4 separate regions of the Homo sapiens genome follow, and regions 1, 3 and 4 are each linked to region 2. The links are contacts of gene promoters, found by promoter capture Hi-C in human tissues and cell types (Jung and others, 2019). All regions are on one chromosome and are shown on one strand. The core of a region is centred on a gene start or on the middle of the fragment in contact, and the rest is flanking DNA. Distances in the headings are between cores, read along the strand shown.

Region 1 (4,480 bases), core at 628-3,127, 720 kb after region 2:
TTTATAACCCAGGAACAGGAAAGAGTTCTTAAACAGGACACAGAGTGCTGCCAATAAGGGAAAAGATTGCCAGACTGTATTTAAGAACACCTGTTTATCAAAATACGTTAATAAGGTGAAAAGGCAAAAGAGTGGAATATAACTGAGGATACACACACCATTGAATCTATTCAATACACAGGACTATCCAGAAGAAAAATGGACAATAAATCTGAACAATTCACAAAACAAATCCAACTGGCCAATAAATATGAAGTGATACTCAACACATTAGGATATAGGGAAATGCAAGTTTGAACCTCAATGAGATACCATTACTCACATATCAGAATTTCTAAAGTGTTTCAATTTTTGTAACTTCAAGTGTTGTTGAAGATGGGAAACTGCACTGTACAATGGTACTATAACTTTGGAAGAGTTCAGGCTTATCTCTGCCGAAGTTGAGGTTAGGCTTTCTCTATCACCCAGCACTTCCAACAGCAGGCTGTGCGCGTGGACAGGAGGATTCTGGCAAGGAATGTTCGCAGCAGCACTATTTGTAATAGCTAAAACCTGGAAACAACCTAAATGCCCATTAATAGTCAAATGGATTTTTTTTTAAACTGTGGCATATTCATACAGTGAAAAACTACAGCTGCATAAAACCACAGATTAACAACAGATTTGAACAAATGAAGACATACTACAGAGGGAAGAAAAAAAACAAGGACATGATCACCGTAAGGGTCAAGAAAGTGATCATCTTTAGAAGGGAGTTGGGACCCAGGAGGGACAGGTTGGCTTCTGGGCTGTAGGCAATGTTCTCTGAGTGACTGGTTGCACAGGTGTTCACGTTGTAAAAAGTCATGAAGCTGCACATTTATTTTGTTTACACATACAACATAACTTATGTTGTATGTTCTTATATGTTCGATTCACAACAAAAATGTTTTAAAATAATCTGAAATATTAGATCACTGCTTATTTTTAAATGTATGGCATATACCCCTTGAAAAGAGCGTTCTCATTGTGAGGACTTTAGAGAAATTCATTTTCTTGAGAAACAAAATTTGGTTAATGAGTGTTTCTCATTAATAATCTATACATCAGGATTAAGAGCTGATTTTATTAAGGTCTACCCTACCAAAAGCTTTCCCATAATAATCCAAAATAAGACGTTTTCCTATTTCTATATAAATTCCTTTGCATGAGACATTTGTTTATTAAAACACTTAAAATTGTATTTGGAATAAACCACCTAAAGTGGTTTGTTCTGAAAAAAAAAAAAAAAAAAAAAAGCCTTTTAAGAACTTGGGTCTTTTTGTTGTGGTCATTTAAAATCAGTATTTTAGACACTCCACTCGCTCTCAGTGTAGAGAGAATGTATTCGATTGCGTGTTGGAACTACGTGTAGACAAAACGATCGCGGTTAAAGCTTGCGGCTCAGAGCCCACCTGGCCGCGCTGCTGGGAAACGGACGGAGCGGCGCTTCAATCAGAGGTGAAGGTGCAGCAGCTGCTTAGCTGGCTTTGGTCCATCACTTCTGGGGACTTCAGATTCTCAAAATCTTAAATTCTAAACCCCACAGGAATGCAAATCTGCCCACCTTTTCCCACATAACTCTACCGTCGCTCAAACTCTTCCTGGTACCAGCGGGGAAGCGGAGGAGACCCAGGCAGGGGCCCGCGCTCGCTCGGCTGCAGCCCGACTCCCCTGCGCTCCCGGCCCAGGGCCGCGTCCCGACGGGGAAGTGCGCTGCGCCCGGGCGCCCCCGAGTGGAGGGGGGGGGAAGGAGGGAGCCGGCGGCGGGCGGGGCGGGGCGCGGTGACAGCCGAGCCGGGCCCGCCCCTGGCTCCCACCCCCGAGCCCACAGCTCCCGCCCGCCCGCGGCCGCCCGGGAGCTCGTCCAGCCCCGCGCTGCGCTCGCCCGCCCGCTGCCCGCCGGAGCACCGCGGCCTCCGCCCGCGTCCATCTGCCCGCCGCCCGCGCCTGTTCCGCAGCCCGCGTCCGCGCCGGCCCCACAGCTCTGCGTCCGGGTAAGCCCCCACCCCGCCTGGGGTCCCCCTCGCGCTCGCGGGGCTCCCTGCCCCCGCTCCGGGGCCTCAGCCATATCTGGGCAAAATATTCAGCTGTCGCCGCCGCCGCCAAGAGGGACTGAGCGTGGCTCCCTCTATAAATAGCTGCCGCCTCGGGTTGCCTCTGGGGCTAGGGAGCCCGGGTCTCGGGGTTCCGAGCCCAGCGCTCCCGTCCCCGCCTCCCCGCGCGCGCAGCCCTGGCCAGGGCGCCCTCCGCTCTGGACCTCCGCACCGCGTCTGTGAACGCGAGAAGGACCCGGGGTTCTGGAGGAGACGGCGCCCCGGGCTGGGGTCCTGGCGGAGGGGCGCCCCCGCCACCCGCAGGACTCCAGCGCGGCGGGGCTCTGAGCCCGCGGGGTGCTCAGCTGGGTACAGGTGCCAGCCGGAGCTGGGCTCGGGGGCGCGGCCTCTTCTCCGCCTGCAAGAGTCTGGGGGTGGGAGTGGGGGAGTAAAGGCTCGACTGGACGTGGATCCCAGGTTCGCGCTGAGAGTGTTTGGGGCAGGTGAAGTTTCCCAAACTGGGAGAGACAAGGTTTAAAGCACCACGACACGCGCTACGCGGCCAAGTGGAGCTGGAAAGAGCTTGGAGGCGGGAGCCCCAGGTTGTCGCCGGCTCTCGGCATGGCCTTGGCAATCCCCCTCTTGTTTCTGGATCTCAGTCTCCCATTTGTAGGGGCGAGGTTTGGTAGCCGCGATGGAGCTGGGAGCCCAAGCCCTGAGAGCTGCAGGGCGCGCTCTTGGCCGCCTGCGCTCCCCACACCTGTTCACCCTCTCCGGGCCTGGGACGCTGGGGTCCCAGCCGCGCACATGCGGAGACGCTGCAGAAATCGGAGACTGACTGCCCCAGACTCGATCGTATCCTGGGACTCACTAAGGCCGTCGGATATCCTAAGCCGTACAACCCTAGGAAGTGCACTTTTGGGGTGCCTATGGGCATCTCTCTGCTCCGTAGCCGGCAAAGCAGCCTGTGAGCCACGCAGCTTCAGATGCGATGAGCTGGGCAGGGGCAGTGGTTCCAGTACAGCCGCTCCCTGGCCACAGTTTCCCGGTCTATATCGGGCCTATGATGCGTCCTCCAACCTGCGCAGCGCCGCCCCCTCCTACACCCTTCACCCACCGCTACTATTACAGACCCTGTCTCCAGCCCTCGCCCTATGCCCTCAGACTCTCGGAGACGACCTGGCCCAAGCTCCTCCGTGTCTGAATCGCAGAACCAGACCCTGAACCCAGGTGCTGGGCCCTCAGCGTGAGAACCCCTAGGGCCCCCACCCCATCTTTCTTCCAGAGGTGACTGCCATTTTGTCCTCTGTGCAGGGCCGCAGAGCCCCCTGCTCAAGGTCACACAGGGCCGGTCACGCCAGAAGTTCTGCAGTCTCCCAGCCTTTCCCATCTCTTTCCGCACCCTTCCCACTGCTCAGGCAGGTCCGGGAGCTCTGGGAGCACCCGATCAATGCCCCCTCTTCTTGAATCTGCTGCTGTTCTGGACTTTACCTTGTCTGGACAATAGCGCCCTCATCCTGAAGTTTCCTTTTTGCTTCTACTTTACTTTCTGTTATGTGTTTTTTTCTAAAGCCATCTCAAAGACTTACAGAAAAAAGAATTAACGGGAAATGGAGTCAGATAATAAAGTTTCCATCAGTTAGAGCCACACAACCAACAGGCAGAGTGAAAACAAGAATACTGTCACTTTGGTGTATTATCTTTAATGAGCTAGTCTTACAAACCCGTGTTTTAGAGAGTCATTGACCCTTGAGTTTCTCCCAGCCTAAGATGAAAGCCAGTGTCCTCTAAAAATAGCCTCCGCCCCACCTTATCAGGGTCTCACACCTTCTCCCTCCTTCAGGGTAGGGCGTTTTCTTGCAGCTCAGCAAAAACAGAAAACACAAAGTAGGTGTGGCAGCTCTGAGCAATGGGAGGTGGACTGGCCTGGAGGTTAGGATATCTGGCTCCAGCCCCAACTCTGCCACCCACTCAGAGGAACCTTGAGCAATGAGGGGGCAGACAAGGTGGTCTCTAGTGGACCTGGAGTGGAGAGGGCTTAGAGTCTTCCTTGGAAGCCTTTCTAGCATGACCCATCCTGTAAGGAGGAGCTGGGGAAGGAGTGAGAGACAGTGGCTTTCCCAGGTGCCAAGGGAGGACAGAGGTGGGCAGTGTCACTTGCTGTGGAGAGACAGGAGTAGGGGGATGAGGACTGGGAAAAGACCATCAGGATTGGCAGGGATCATGAGTGACTTAGACCAGGGTATTGCAGCAGGCTCAAAAAATGAGATCTGCCAGTGACCCAGCCTGTCTGAGCCTCGTTTTCTCCTCATACAATGGAGACAACAATAGCCCCATTTCATAGGGGCTGCTTGTGAGAATTAAGTGAGATGATTCAGGGCAAGCCCTCAGCCCAGAGCCTGATATTGCAATGATAGTATTCGTTG
Region 2 (4,658 bases), core at 2,148-4,647:
TGAATGATTTTGATCCATTTCTACATTTCCATATTAATATGTGGACCCTTAAACACCTATGAAATCCATGATGAAAAAGGTATTAGTAATTAACTCACCTGAGATATGTTCATTTTCTGCTGCTCCTGAAAGAGTGTGGAGAACCGTAAAGGATAACCTGGGGGTGAGGAAGGAGTCATGAGAGATCTGGGCAGCCTCCATCTTACCTGCCTACCAATGTCATCACACCAGCTGGGGAAAAAGGCCTCTCTACAAAAAATGTTCCTTTGACCTTTGAGAAGGGACAAGCAGCACTACAGAGAAAGCACCTCCTGAATATGTGCATCTTTAATATGATCATGTGGATGAACCCTTGCTGTGTGTGTGTGTTTTTTTGTTTTTTTTTTTTGAGACAGGATCTGGCTCTGTTGCCCAGGCTGGAGTGCAGCGGTGTGATCTCAGTTCACTGCAACTTCTGCCTCCTGGGTTCATGCAATTCTCCCGTCTCAGCCTCCTGAGTTGCTGGGACCAAAGGCACCCACCACTACACCCAGCTAATTTTTGTATTTTTTGTAGAAATGGGGTTTCACCATGTAGCTTAGGCTGGTCTCGAACTCCTGACCTCAAGCAATCTGCCCGCCTTGGCCTCCCAAAATGCTGGGATTGCAGGGGTGAGCCACCAGGCCTGGCCCCTTGCTGTTTTTCATCAGGCGATTGTAGACTATTTTCCTATTGATTTATTTAAAATGTATGTCTTCTTTGACTAACAACTTAAACAGAATTAACATTAATATTCTGTTAATATTATTTACACCAATAGAAAACACAAAACTGAAAAAAAGGAGATGCTGAAAGACTATTTTAAAATATTTTTGTTCTAACTTATAGTTTCTCAAAAGACTTTCGATAAGACACTTCTGGTGACTCACCTGTGACAGAGTGAACAGCACTGTGCTTTGCTCCAAGCTCTGTCCTGAGTGACCATGGACAAACTGTTCATCCTAGGTTCAATACTTTTTAAGGTTTTAAGAGTCAGAAATAGAAATCCTTTCCTGTATTATCATTTTTGTGATTCTACAGGTTCAGGATAGAGGCAACCTTAGTAAATTTCTAGATGCTACATGTGATGGATGTTGTGTGAGAGTGACTCAGAATCTGGAAAGAGTGAGGCAAGAATGAAGAAAATGGGGGCTCTATGAGGAGGATTAGAGACAATTTCCTCAGCCCTGGCTGGTTATGCCTTCCTTGGAGACCATGGAGAAAAGCCCTCCAGTAATGTGGCTTTTCCTGTGCAGTCTGACAGTCACCCACGCCTCTCAACCCCAGCTTACCACCTTCTGCAAGTTGGCCCACAGTGTTCAGTGTCACACAATCTGTGATGGCTTCTGGATGTGGCGACATCACCAAGTCTGGTGCTCTCTGGGCAAGGGGATGAAGAAGTGCCGCTGGTTGGGCAAATCAAGACCTGCTCCTTTCTGGGTTCTTCTGCATCTGTTTGGAAGCCCTGGTGAGGAGGTCTCTGTTCTGTCAGAGAGCAGTTCTTCGGTGGGACTCCTGTTCCTGGGGCTCCCTCCTTCCTGCAACATAAAGAGCTGCTTTGCTCCAGAGAAGCTGGGGCTGATGCCTGGGTAACAAATTTATTTTAGTTGAAACTTTCATGGAAAACAGTGTTCTTCACGTCAGCACAACTTCCATTTTGGGCTGGATAATCCTCTGACATAAGGAGTGGTCCTGTGCATTGCAGGATGTTTAAGAGCATTTCTAAACATGCACTAGACACTAGGACACCCCTTCTCCCTGTTGTGACAATCAGAAACGTCTCCAGGCCGGGCGTGGTGGCTCACGCCTGTAATCCCAGGACTGTGGGAGGCCAAGGCAGGTGGATCACCTGAGGTCAGGAGTTCAAGATAAGCCTGGCCAATATGGTGAAACCCCACCTCTACTAAAAATACAAAAAATTAGCTGGGCATGGCCATGCATGCTTGTAATTCCAGCTGAGATTACAAGCTGGGAGGCTGGGGCAGGAGAATCAGTTGAACCTGGGAGGTGGAGGTTGCAGTGAGCCAAGATCACACCACTGCCCTCCAGCCTGGGCGACAGAGAGAAACTCAGTCCCCTCTCCCCCCACCAAAAAAGTCTCCAACATTTCCAAAGTTCCCTAGGGAGCAAAATCCTCCTGGTGAAGAAGTGACCTAAGGCCTTAAACCTGATTCTCTTGGCATTAATTAGAACCCTGCTATCCATGACTACAGCCTCCAATCACATCAACTACTGAGCACTGGAAATGTGGCTAGGACCACATGTTGAAATAACATTTTGGATACACTGAGAAAACCACAGTATGTTCTTAAAATTAATTTCATGTTTTAGATTTTCATGTAGCTACTAGTTTAACATTTAAAATTACGTATGTGACTCATCTTCACTGCCCTAGAATATCAGACTGACTTCTAAAGACAGAGACAGGAGGGACAGCACAGGAGGTGGCAGGGGCCTCAGTCTAACCCAGAGGCTCTGGAGACATCCCAGAAACCCCACAACAAATACACTTGCCACATAGTAAGATTCTGTCCACACTGACTTCACAATCATTGTCCTGGGGTTTTGGGGACAATCACTCAGTGCTGTGAAGGCTGCAATGCTGGGTTAGGTAGGTAGGCCATTACAAACAGCCTGATTCGGGGAGTAAAGTGTTTATGTATTGACATCCTAGCTCTCTCATCCTTTGTGAGCTTGGCTCTATCTTTTCACTCCTCCTTCTTCATTTTTAATGATATAAATAGGGTGGTTGTGAGAATTAAACGAAATACTACATGAAAAGAACAAAGTGTCTTCCAAATATAACGGGAATCAACATTTACATGCTGCTTAGTAACTAGCGCTTAGCTAAATGCTTTACAGGGGATGGCTTACCTCTGAACGACACAAAGCAGTTTTTACTAATATCCTCATTTTCAAACGCTCAAGTGACAGAGCCAAAATTCACGAGGTCCTTCTAGCTCCTAGGCTCGGCCTCTCACCGCAGACCCACGGGCTGTACGCGCTTTGTGGCAGGTTCATGGTCAATACAATAAACGCGCATTCCCCTCCTGAAGCCAGCACCGCGTTTTCCGACGCCTGGCTGCATTCTGGCGCCCATACCTCGGCCCGCACCGAGCATCTTCCAACTAGGACTCAGCCCCACCTAACGCCCCCGGAGCCCGCCCCCACCGGCCCTTCTCAGGCTGAGGTCCCGGGCCGGCCGAGGCACAGGGAGCGACGGCCTGCTTTGGGGGAGTTCCCGGGACGTCGCGTTCCCGCCCCCTGGACACTAGCACATCCCTCCCTGCAGGTCCGCAATCCGCGTGGAGGCCCGGCGCTCTCACCTGAGCTGCGAACCCTCTGCACCAGCAAACACTAACAGGGAGAAGCCGGAAAGTGGGGTTGACTGCACATGCGCAGACGAAAACGCGCATATCCGTTCCCAGCATGCTGCGCGGTAACCCATAACATGCAAGACTACGTTTCACATGCAGTACGGCGCCAGCTGTCAGTGTTTTTTTGTTTGTTTTTCCCCCAAGATTTATGGCGTAATAACATGGACCGTCCTGATAACTGGAGCCCGGGTTCTGTCAGAGCCCCAGAGGTTGTGGGTTAGACTTGATGACATAACAGCAAATGCAGCGTGTGGTTACAGAAAGCAAGAGCCGCGGAAGACGTTTGAAAACAATTGGGAAAATTTGTATACGGACTGGAAATTAGAATTATTAATTAATTGTGGCAGCATTGGGATTATGTAGGTAATCTTGCTTATTCATAAAGAGATGTCTATGTAAGTATTTAGGATTGTATTATGTTTGTAAGTTTTTGGGTTTTTTGGTTTTTTTTTTTTTTTTTGAGACGGAGTCTTACTCTGTCGCCCAGGCTGGAGTGCAGTGGCGCGATCTCGGCTAACTGCAACCTCCGCCTCCCGGGTTCAAGCGATTCTCCTGCCTCAGCCTCCCAAGTAGCTGGGACTACAGGCGCCCGCCACTACGCCCAGCTAATTTTTGTATTTTTAGTAGAGACGGGGTTTCACCATGTTGGCCAGGCTGGTCTCGAACTCCTCACCTCAAGTGATCCGCCTGCCTTGGCCTCCCAAAGTGCTGGGTATACAGGCGTGAGCTACCACTCCCGGCCCGTTTGTAAGTTCTTTTTAAAAAATAATTAGAAATGGGAAGTATGGCAAAATGTTAAGAATATCTACTTCTAGAATATGGACATGCTTATTGACTATGTGTTGGAAAATTTTATAATATAAAGTTGATAAAGGGAAAATTGGGACTGTAATGTTACAAGTGTGCCTTTTAACTTAGAGCTGCCACAAAAATACATAAACAGCTTTGTGAATAAAGCCGTAAAATGTAACAAATACTAGAAAATGGAAACCATTATTAACATAAAAGAATAATATTTGTGATCCTCAGTTTATCTCTGGGGGGAAAAAAAGAAAAAGCAAGTAAGCTGTTCAGCATTACATAATACCTGAAGTACACACAATCCCAACTAAGAAAACCGTTATCCACAAATTATGCATCTCCTAGAGATGAGCTTGCTTAAATCTTATGTGGTATGCTTCTGAAATCAGGAACCAAATTAGGAACCTCTCAGCACAGTATTTTATGACACTCTTTTTAGTAACACACATACACTCACACACA
Region 3 (4,651 bases), core at 1,805-4,304, 620 kb after region 2:
AGTGCTAACCCCCAGGACCTCATAATGTGACTGTATTTGGAGACATAGTCTTTAAAGAGGTCATTAAGGTTGAGTTCATTGAGGTGGACTCTAATCCAGTCTGACTGATGTCCTCATAAGAAGAGGAGATTAGGGCACAAAGAGGCACAGAGTAGGGAGGTAGAGGTTGCAGTGAGCTGAGACCAAGCCACTGCACTCCAGCCTGGGCGACAGAACAAGACTCTGTCTCAAGAAAAACAAACAAACAACAAGGACAACAAAAATGAGGCACAGAGTAAAGACAATGTCAACACAGAGATAAAAGGCGGCCATCTGCAAGCCACAGAGAGAGGCCTCAGAAGAAACCGCCCCAGCCCACACCTTGGTCTCAGAATTCTAGCCCCAGAATTGTGAGAAAACCAATTCTGTTGTTTAAGCCACACAATCTGGGTACTGTTATGGCAGCCCTAGCAGGCCAGTGCTCTCTAATAGGACACACATAAGGTGTTCCCCGCAGCCCTGCTGAAATGGCAGCAGAATGGAATCACATCCAGGTCCACCAGCATTGGAAGGTGGAATTGCTGTGGCAAAAAAAAAAAAGCCCTCCTTTTGGAATATTGTGAAGACAGGTGAGGCCAAGGCTCTGGCCCTAGTGGGCTAAGATGATGTGTTCTGGGACATGACAAGTTGCAGAGACACATAAAGAAGAGCTGAACCAACCCCCACCGCCTCCATTTTTGTGTATAAACCACCCTATTAAGCCTGATGATTTCTAAGGCTTGGAGCAGGTCTGGAAGGGCAGGGGAGCTGATTCTTACATGGGATATCTGGGGCAGGTGGCTAAAAAAACAAAAATAGTAGCAACATGCAAAAATGCTCATGGCCTGGTGTGATATGAAAACAATGAAAAAGTCTTTTCTCTGATATTCCTACAAGTGTGTGAAGTGTCTTTCCACCTTACCAATTTGCAGGTGGAGGAGGAGTGGCAGCCCAGATTTCTGCGGGGTAGAACTGTGGGCCACTCTAGTGGGAAGGCCCTGCTTGAGAGACCCCAGGAGTCCTTGTATACAAAACTGGGTTCTGGACCCGGGCTGTTCATCTCGTGATACTGGCAGTGGAGACACCAGCACCACCACCCTCCCCCATGCCCGCTCTCACTCCAGACCAGTGCTGGTCATTATTGGTGGCATGGTGCACCTACCCCTTGTCTAGGAAGATGGAGGAGTTGAACCCATCAACCAGCTCCTCACTGATCTCTCACATGGAGCTCTGCACAAATGATGCTCGGCAGCCAGATCATCAGACATCAGGGCCCTGCCTGGCCATCACCGCAGCGGGAAACTCACATTAGAAATTCTGCTCCCCAGATAAGGCACAGGTAGGCAACTGCATAGAGGAAATGAGCTGAAGTCTCAGGAGCACAGGATAACATCTGGGGAAATGTCCTTCACCCAGCACTCACCTTCCCATCTTGCCAGGCCCACCAGGGTTCCAACACCCAACAACCTGCTCCAGCCCAGGAAGGGCCCAACGCTCATCCCTTGCCTTCCCTCCACTGCCTCCCTCCACACACACGGCGATGGAGAGGGGTGTGGGGCTGCCCAGGTGGGATCACAGTTGTGGCCTGGCCCGGACTTCTCTGTGTTACCTTTGGGTACTTCCTGCCAAATGGCCAGAGGTGCCAAAAGTGAGTGCTGAGCCAAAAAGCCTGCAGCAATGGAAAAGGCCCTCGTGCCGGGCTTTCCTGGAGTCAGAGCCTCAGAAAGTCGGGATACAGCAGGAGAACATCTTATTCCCTCTAGTGGCTCCCATCGAGTGAGCTGGACAGGGGGTCTCTAGAATGTGAGTGCTGGTTATCAAAGTTCTAAGTTCTGTTGGGGCCTATCACCAAGGAAGTTAGGTCACTTCTCTAAGGTTCCATTACCTCGGCTCCTTCCTTCAAAGAGCTCCCTCCCCAAAGGTCTCTCTGAGCCATTGACTGCTCACCCTCCTCCTCTATGTCATCTCCTTAACTGTTCACAATTTTGCCAACATCCCCCCTCTGGGAAAACCCAAATGCAGCGAGGGCCCTAGGTTTGAGGAGATACAGCTGGGTTCCAACCCTTCTTTTTCTTACCAGTTCTGTGCCCTGGAAAACTCACTGTACCTCTCAGAGCCTCTCCAGTCCCCTAACCTGCACAATGCAAATCATCCCAGCATCTGCTTCCCAGAGACATCATCAGGCATACATGAGATAATTCTCATAACACTCATAGGTTGGTGTCACAAGTAACAAATGCACAAACTCAAGAGAAGGAAGAATTATAAGGATAGATGGGATGCAGCACGGACTTAAACTGAAGACATGCCCGGGTTCCAACAGTGTAATATTGGAAAAGTTACTTCCACTCTGGGCCTCATTTCTCATTCTGCACCATGAGAGAGTTAACATAAAATGAAACTGGTATATGGTCATCCTGTGGCATAAAGCCTTCCAGTGGTTTCCTGTTATATTTAGAATCAGACCTAGGTGTCTCATCCCAGCCTATGTGGTAGTCTGCATGCATGCACAGCAGCTTGCAATGAACCTCACTGCTGGGATTCATGCCCTTGTTTAACCATAAAGTGGTTACTGACTCCCCTTCTGACTAAGAGTATACAGCAAAGTGACGGGTTGTCTCTCCTGTCTGAGTCAGTTAGGGCTGCTATAAGAAAGTGCCACAGACAGGGTGGCTCACCAATAACAGAAATGTATTCCTTGCAGTTCTGGAGGCTGGAAGTCTGAAATCAGGGTATCAGCATGGTCCAGTTTTGCCGAGGTCCCTCTTCAGGGTTGCAGACTGCCAGCTTCTTGTTGTGTCCTCAGATGGTTGAAAAAGGGTGACGGAGCTCCCTGGGGTCCCTTTGAAAAGGGCACTAATCCCATTCATGAGGGCTCCACCTTTATGAGCTAATTATCTCACAAAGTCCCCACCTCCTAATATTATCACATTGGGAATTTGGCTAACAACACATGACTTTTGGGGGACGTAAACATTCAATCCATTGCAACTTCCAATATTTAGTTACAAAAAAAGCACCAATTCCCTCGTACTTGCTGTCTCCTGTGTTTCTCCCTCCCTTTCCTTGTCCTTCTCTGTCCCTCCTCCTCTCGCTGCCTCTGTCACAGTCCTCTAACTGAGGAAGCAAGCTTTCATGTCAGGAGCTACCCGACATAGAGGCCCACATGGCAAAGAACTGGGGAACATCCAGGCCAACAGACAGAAAGGAACTCAGGCTTAGTCCAAACTGGTTCTGCCAATACCTACATGAGTGAGCTTGGGAGCAGCTCTTCCCACAGCCCAGCCTCGGTTGAGACCACAGTCCCAGCTTCATGGGAGACCTTCAGGCAGAGGCACCCAGGTAAGCCATGCCCAGGTTACTGATCCACAGACTGTGAGATATTAAATATTTGTACTTTCACATTGCTAATGTTGTGAGAAGAATGGGTAACTCACCTAGTCTACCAGGCCCCAGGATCTGGCCCTGCCATCATTTCCCTCCTCTCCCATCCTCCCTCCAGGGCTCCCCCAAGCCACACTCCCCAAGCCACACTGGCTCTTTCTCTTCTTTCTTCTTCTTCTTATTTATTTATTTATTTATTTTGAGACAGAGTCTCACTCTGTTGCCCAGGCTGGAGTGCAGAGGCACGATCTCAGCTCACTGCAACCTCCACCTCCCAAGTTTAAGCAATTCTCCTGCCTCAGCCTCCCAAGTAGCTGGGATTACAGGTGTACACTACCACACCTGGCTAATTTTTGTACTTTTAGTAGAAATGGGGTTTCACCATGTTGGCCAGGCTGGCCTCAAACTCCTGAACTCAGGTGATCCACCTGCCTCGGCCTCCCAAAGTGCTGGGATTACAGGCATGAGCCACCACACCCAGCCTACACACTTGCTCTTTCTAACCTCCTCTGCCAAACCCACCTCTGTTTGGGAGTCTCTGCTTCAGTGGTGCCTTCTCCTTGACACATTGTTCCCAAATGTGTGCAGGGCTGGCTCCCTCTGGTCCTTCTGCTCACAGCATAAAAGTAAGGCCCCTCTGAGGCCCACCCAGTGACTTCCCAGGCCCACCTCTCAGCACTCGACTTCATTTTCTCTACAGCACTTGCTCTTTTCTTTCACATGCCTTTGTCCATCTCCCCCTCCAGACTGTGAGCTCCTGGAGAGCAGGGACCACTTGGCTGATCTCAGCACAGCATGCTGGGCCCACTGGGGCACCTGCACAGGGTGAGTGCTCAGGCGTAGTTGCTGCATGAATAAATGGGAGGATCGCAGACTTTCCACCTCCCCACCTTCTGACCAGCTAAGACTGTGGAGATGATCAATGCAAATAAAAGGTGTGAGTCAGACCTGAGGAAGGAGGACGGCAGGCGTGACCTCTGCGTGACTTTTCCCTGGCACCAGTTGCTGGTAAAGCAGAGTAGGCACCGCGGACACAGGAGGCTGACCGCCTCCTGGTGGCCAGCCGTAGCACTGCAGCCCCAGGCCAGAGCGCCTCGACTTAAGTCACACACTCCGGCTGGCTGACCTCAAGGCAGTGGTTTTTTGGGGGTCTCCAGGGGGCAAAGGAGCAGGTCCGCAGGCTCCAAAGGGCAGTGTGAGGAACCTCGGAAGCCTCCCTTGACCCCTTTTTGCCTCCACTTCCTTTGGC
Region 4 (4,783 bases), core at 560-3,059, 660 kb after region 2:
GCTTGAGATGTTGTAAAACATTTTAATCAAGTCTTTTTTTAAGCACATAGTATTTGAAAGATATCTTTTAAGAGAAATCTAAATACTACCCAGTGGCAGATGTTATGGGTAACATTTCTAGTTATAAAATCAAAATATCAAAATGGAACAATAGCAGAAACATCTATATCTACTTATGAAATATTAATGTAGTAAAAAGCAGTTAAACCTGTTATGAAGGACACTTAAACTTTTTGAGGTCACCAAACCTCTTGAAAAGCTGATGAAAGCTGTAAATGATCTTCCCAGAAAAATTCACACATGTACATTTACATATGCATACATAATCTCGTGCCAGTCAGTAGATTCATGAACCCCCAAAGCTCATTCTCAAGAGTTCCGGTTAAGAACTCATGCCTGCCTGTTAACAAATTGAAAAGTTCTAGAAAAATGGCATGGCTAGTTTCCTGTAGAATAAATTAGTAGAGATAAAATGTGTGGGGAAGAGGGTATATGTACTAAGGCTCCTATTAAATTGTTCTCTAAACAGATTATAATAATTTGTTTTCTTCTAGAAGAATATGAGAGTGATTATTTTCTTGTATGCCTGCCAATATTGGGCATCTGTTTTTTGCTTTGCTACTTTGAAAAGTGAAAAAAATCTATTTATGTTTTAATTTTTATTTCCCTGATTTTGATTCTTAAGGGAGTTACATTTTTGTCATATATTTTTTAGCCCATTATAGGTCTTATGTGAATTACATGTCTTTGTCCTTTACATAATTTTTCTATTGGCTCTTTTCCTTCTAACATATAAAAGTGGTTTATAAATTAAATAAGTTGGCCCTTTGTAATATCTTGACAGTATTCCCTCAGTTTGTTTAATTATTGTATTTTTTGTATACAAAAACTTTAAAATGTTGCATGCTTATAGCTATCGATCTTTTACTATGTGACTTCTGCTTTTAGGTATTATGTTTAGAAAAGCATTTCCACTCAATATTATGTAATATGTCTTCTGTTTTCTTTTGTAATTGTTGTGGCTTCATTTTTTACATTTTAGTCTTTAATTCATCCAGAATTTATTTTATTTTATAGTGTGAGAGTTGGAATCCTTTTTTATTGTTAGCCAGATGTCCTGTATCAGTCATTACACAATCCTTTCTTTCTCTGCTGGTTTGTAATTCTATCTTTACCAGTACTAAAGCCTTATAAACATATGGTTCAGTTCCTGGGCTTTCCATTCAGAATAATTGATTACCTCCCTATTCTGCAGTACCAGGCTATTCACATTATTATAACTTCATAATAAGTGCTAATAACCTTTACTCTCTACTTCCTCCTCTATCTCCTAATTTGGTTTATTAGTTCCATTGTGTGCTTTTATTATACCTACTGCCCTTATCATAACACTTAGTAGACTTTGTTCTTAGATTTTGTCAATGCATTAATTATCTATTGCTGTGTTACAGATTACCCCAAAGTTATTAGCTTACAACAAGACACATTTTCTTACCTCATAGTTTCTGTGGGTCAGGAAGGAAGACACGGTCAAGCTGGGTCCTCTGCTTCAGGGTCTCTCATGAGGCTGCTGTCAAGGTGTCAGCCATGGCTGGGATCTTATCTGAAGGCTCAGTTAAAGATAAATCTGCTTTCAGTCCTACTCACATGGTTATTGGCACAGTGTACTTCCTTCTGAGTTGTTCATTAGTCCCTAGGTGGCTATTGGCCAAAGGCCATCTTCAGTTTCTTGCCACATGGTTCTTCCCAACATGGCCATTTGCTTCATCAAAGCAACAAAGGAGAGATTATACTAGCAAAGTTGAAATTAGAATCTTCTGTAATCTAGTTATTTGTGATCCCTTCAGCCTTGAAGTCTTCTATTGATTAGAAGCAGGTTACTCAAGGGGAAGGGATTACACAAGGCTGTGAATACCTGGAGGGAAGAATCTTTGGGGTTATCTCAGCAGCTACTTACCACGGTCCGTTTCTCAACTATACCGTGTAGTCCCAGAGAATAGGGCATGTTTATCTTGCTGATCATTGACAGTTACTGTCTGACATAATGTCTGGCACATAGTATGTCTTAAATATTTATGAGCTATAAATATGTCTCTAATAAACAACATATGTTTAGATTTGGAAGGTTTTTTTCTGGACCAGTCTAACTCTTTGTCTTTTAAGAGACAATATATTTTATTCTTAGTGTTATAAAACTGCTTAGACCTCTGTCATCTTATTTTATTATGTCTGTTTTTCATGCATCCTAGCAGTTTTCTTTGAAGAGCTTTCTTTTGCTATATACACTTTTTTCTTTCCTCTCCAGTAGACCTCTTGATGACTGAACCATAACAGTCCCTTCCATAGTTTCTGTGTACTCACTCTTTGCTCATATCCCTCTACCTTCTACTGGAGCCTTCGATGCTTGTTTAAAGCAGGGGAAGCTTCCAGTTTACATGTTTTGGGCTGGTGTGCGGGAAGGAGTACTATCTCCCTACCAGTTCTGCAAAATAGGAGTTGGATATATTTTTGGCATCTTCTGCTATTACACAGATATATTAATATAGAAATAGGATGATCTTATAATTGCATATACCAAATAAGTTTTTATTGGTAGCCTAGAACCTAATCATTTCTTTTAGAATTAAAATTTTATAAGAAAATGTGCTTCATTTCAAGGAATTGATCTAATTTTTAGACTGTTCCATACTATTCAAAAACTGGCAGCTATGTGTACCATGTCACTATCACTCACTATAGTCCCGTACCCACTGCTGGGCAGGTTGTAGTCATTTATTCATTCGGTCATGATTCATTCAGTCATTCTTACAATATTCATTTGCCTTGCATGTATCAAGCTCTGCCCCAGGCACTTGGGAACACAAACAATTAAGACACTTAGAGTCTAGTGTGGGAAACAGACATGAATATAAATGATGTGTGTGGGGTTTATTTATGTGTCTTCATATTTGGAAAAATCTTCCTACATATATCCAGTATAATTTATATAAAATTTATTTTTAGTGAGGGTATGAGGTAGGGATCTATTTCTTTTTTTCAAATAGTTATTTGACCAGTCCCTCACCTGTCTGTTTTGAAATGCCACTTTCATTATGTACCAAGATATAATGCAAATTGCATGTTTCTAAGTTCTCTACCATTTTACCTGTCTGTACAACTCATTTAAGTGTTGTAACTTCATAATGCATTTCAACATCTGGTGATGCAAGTCCTTCATTTTTTGGTTATATTCCAAAATGTTCTTTGTTTCCAACTGTTTATTTTTGCATGGTCTTCTTTATTCTGTTTTACCAGTTTCTTATAAGTGATTAATTGGAATTCTGACATCCAAGTTTTGAAAGAGGCTTTCAAAGACCTAGTTTAAATTTAGCTTTTAACATACTTTTCTCTGAGTGAATATGAAACATGAAAGATGATGCCAGGTTTTATTTTTATTTTTTCTGATTTTAAATTATTTTAATGACTTGTTTTGCTGTTAAATGCCACTGAGACTTTAAATGAAAAGTGTAGTGTTTAAAACTTGGTATAGACTTTGTTATTTACATTTATTTTACTTTTTTTTTTTTTAATATCTTAGGTTTAGCCCAAAGGCGTCCCTTCAACCACCTTTGCAGATGCATCTCTCAAGAACCTCTACTAAGGAAATGAGTGGTATGTTTTCCAAACATTTTTGAGATACATATTGGCTTCCGGAGTCAAGAAACATATCTGGTGGTGGCTTTTGACATTTGCTCTCACCTTCTCCTGTTTGGAATATATCCTTCCTCCCCTTTTTCCTAATTGCTTTGCATCATGAATCAAAGTGATCTTAAGAGAAAATGGTGCCTCCCAAAGATATCATTATCTAAACACTGACTTGAGGCCTTCCTCACCCCAGCCCTACTCTGTGTCACCTCTATGTGTGGCCTGCAGAGATGCTTGTGTCCCTTACTCTCTCACCTCTTAGGGGGTGCACCCCTGAGACTTCAGAGGCTGAGGCCTCACATAAAGGAAACATCTGCTGTGGATTAAAAGTGCATAAATATGGGACTTAAATTTATAAAAGAGTTTCAGATACTCCACCACTTAAAAGCTAGCACCCTAAACTGTGTACAGTTACCACTAATCATCTAAATATGAATATAAATAATTCTTTGGGTAATAGAATCCAAGTGGGCTGTTAGGAAAACAATAGGAGACATAGTATAAGTCAAAGAATCTGAAGGTTAGAAATGCAACCACTTGTTATCTTTTCTTCTCCAACCAATGTGTAAATCCCCTGCTCATAGACCCACCCAGGGAGACAGTGTTTTCGTATCAGTGCTTATAGTGTGTGAAATGTAAATGTGATTTTACATTATTTGCTGCTTTAAGTGTGATTCTTACTTAGTTGAAATGCTTTTTTTTTTATAAGAACACATCTCCAGTATTTCTTAATGGAAATTAATTGAACAATATGATTTTTGTTTACATGAATTACTTTTACATAGGCATTTTCTGAAACATGACTACATGGCAAAGTTGAATATCCTTTTAGAAGCTTAAATTAGTATAAACTACTTCTACAGAAACAAGAGGACTTATTTCAGGAGGATTGCAGTTCACCTGGCAGAGCTGATAGGCACACATGTGTACACAACCTCTCCTACATGATGGACACCTCCATTACTACTTTAATTTGTTTAACAAAAGGTGCAGGGACTTAGATGGCCCCAGTGGCCCCACAGAGCAAGTGCATTTGCAGACACAGCTGTCGGTCAGCTGCTGACACATTCTCATTATGGGAAGGTCTGGCCAGTTATGA

The links. Contacts are between HindIII fragments. The study calls those that stand out against the background at their distance.
Region 1: a contact is called between the fragment with the promoter of TMOD1 here and the fragment with the promoter of ZNF510 in region 2, in 1 of the 25 tissues and cell types used here (mesenchymal stem cells).
Region 3: a fragment that was not itself captured here is called in contact with the fragment with the promoter of ZNF510 in region 2 in 3 of the 25 tissues and cell types used here (hippocampus, mesenchymal stem cells and spleen).
Region 4: a fragment that was not itself captured here is called in contact with the fragment with the promoter of ZNF510 in region 2 in 1 of the 25 tissues and cell types used here (mesenchymal stem cells).

What each region holds. Positions count from the first base shown.
Region 1 is chr9:97,499,789-97,504,268 of GRCh38, forward strand. It overlaps TMOD1 (tropomodulin 1), which reads left to right and starts at 1,878. Exons shown (of 10, transcript NM_003275.4): 1 at 1,878-2,015. RefSeq lists a silencer at 1,695-2,414, an enhancer at 3,801-3,945 and a cis regulatory region at 3,864-3,881. The HindIII fragment of the contact is 3,698 bases long and covers 1-3,000 here.
Region 2 is chr9:96,774,690-96,779,347 of GRCh38, forward strand. It overlaps ZNF510 (zinc finger protein 510), which reads right to left and starts at 3,398. Exons shown (of 6, transcript NM_014930.3): 1 at 3,345-3,398; 2 at 1,311-1,556; 3 at 99-157. The coding sequence starts at 1,380. RefSeq lists a silencer at 3,159-3,258. The HindIII fragment of the contact is 14,118 bases long and covers 1-4,658 here.
Region 3 is chr9:97,394,870-97,399,520 of GRCh38, forward strand. LOC286359 (a long non-coding RNA gene) reads right to left here and starts at 1,822. Exons shown (of 6, transcript NR_026847.1): 1 at 1,628-1,822; 2 at 1,181-1,307. RefSeq lists a silencer at 4,426-4,613. The HindIII fragment of the contact is 3,966 bases long and covers 1,072-4,651 here.
Region 4 is chr9:97,435,668-97,440,450 of GRCh38, forward strand. TDRD7 (tudor domain containing 7) reads left to right here. Exons shown (of 17, transcript NM_014290.3): 5 at 3,578-3,651. Among named protein-coding and RNA genes, the nearest start is that of TDRD7, 26 kb to the left of the region's middle. The HindIII fragment of the contact is 3,324 bases long and covers 148-3,471 here.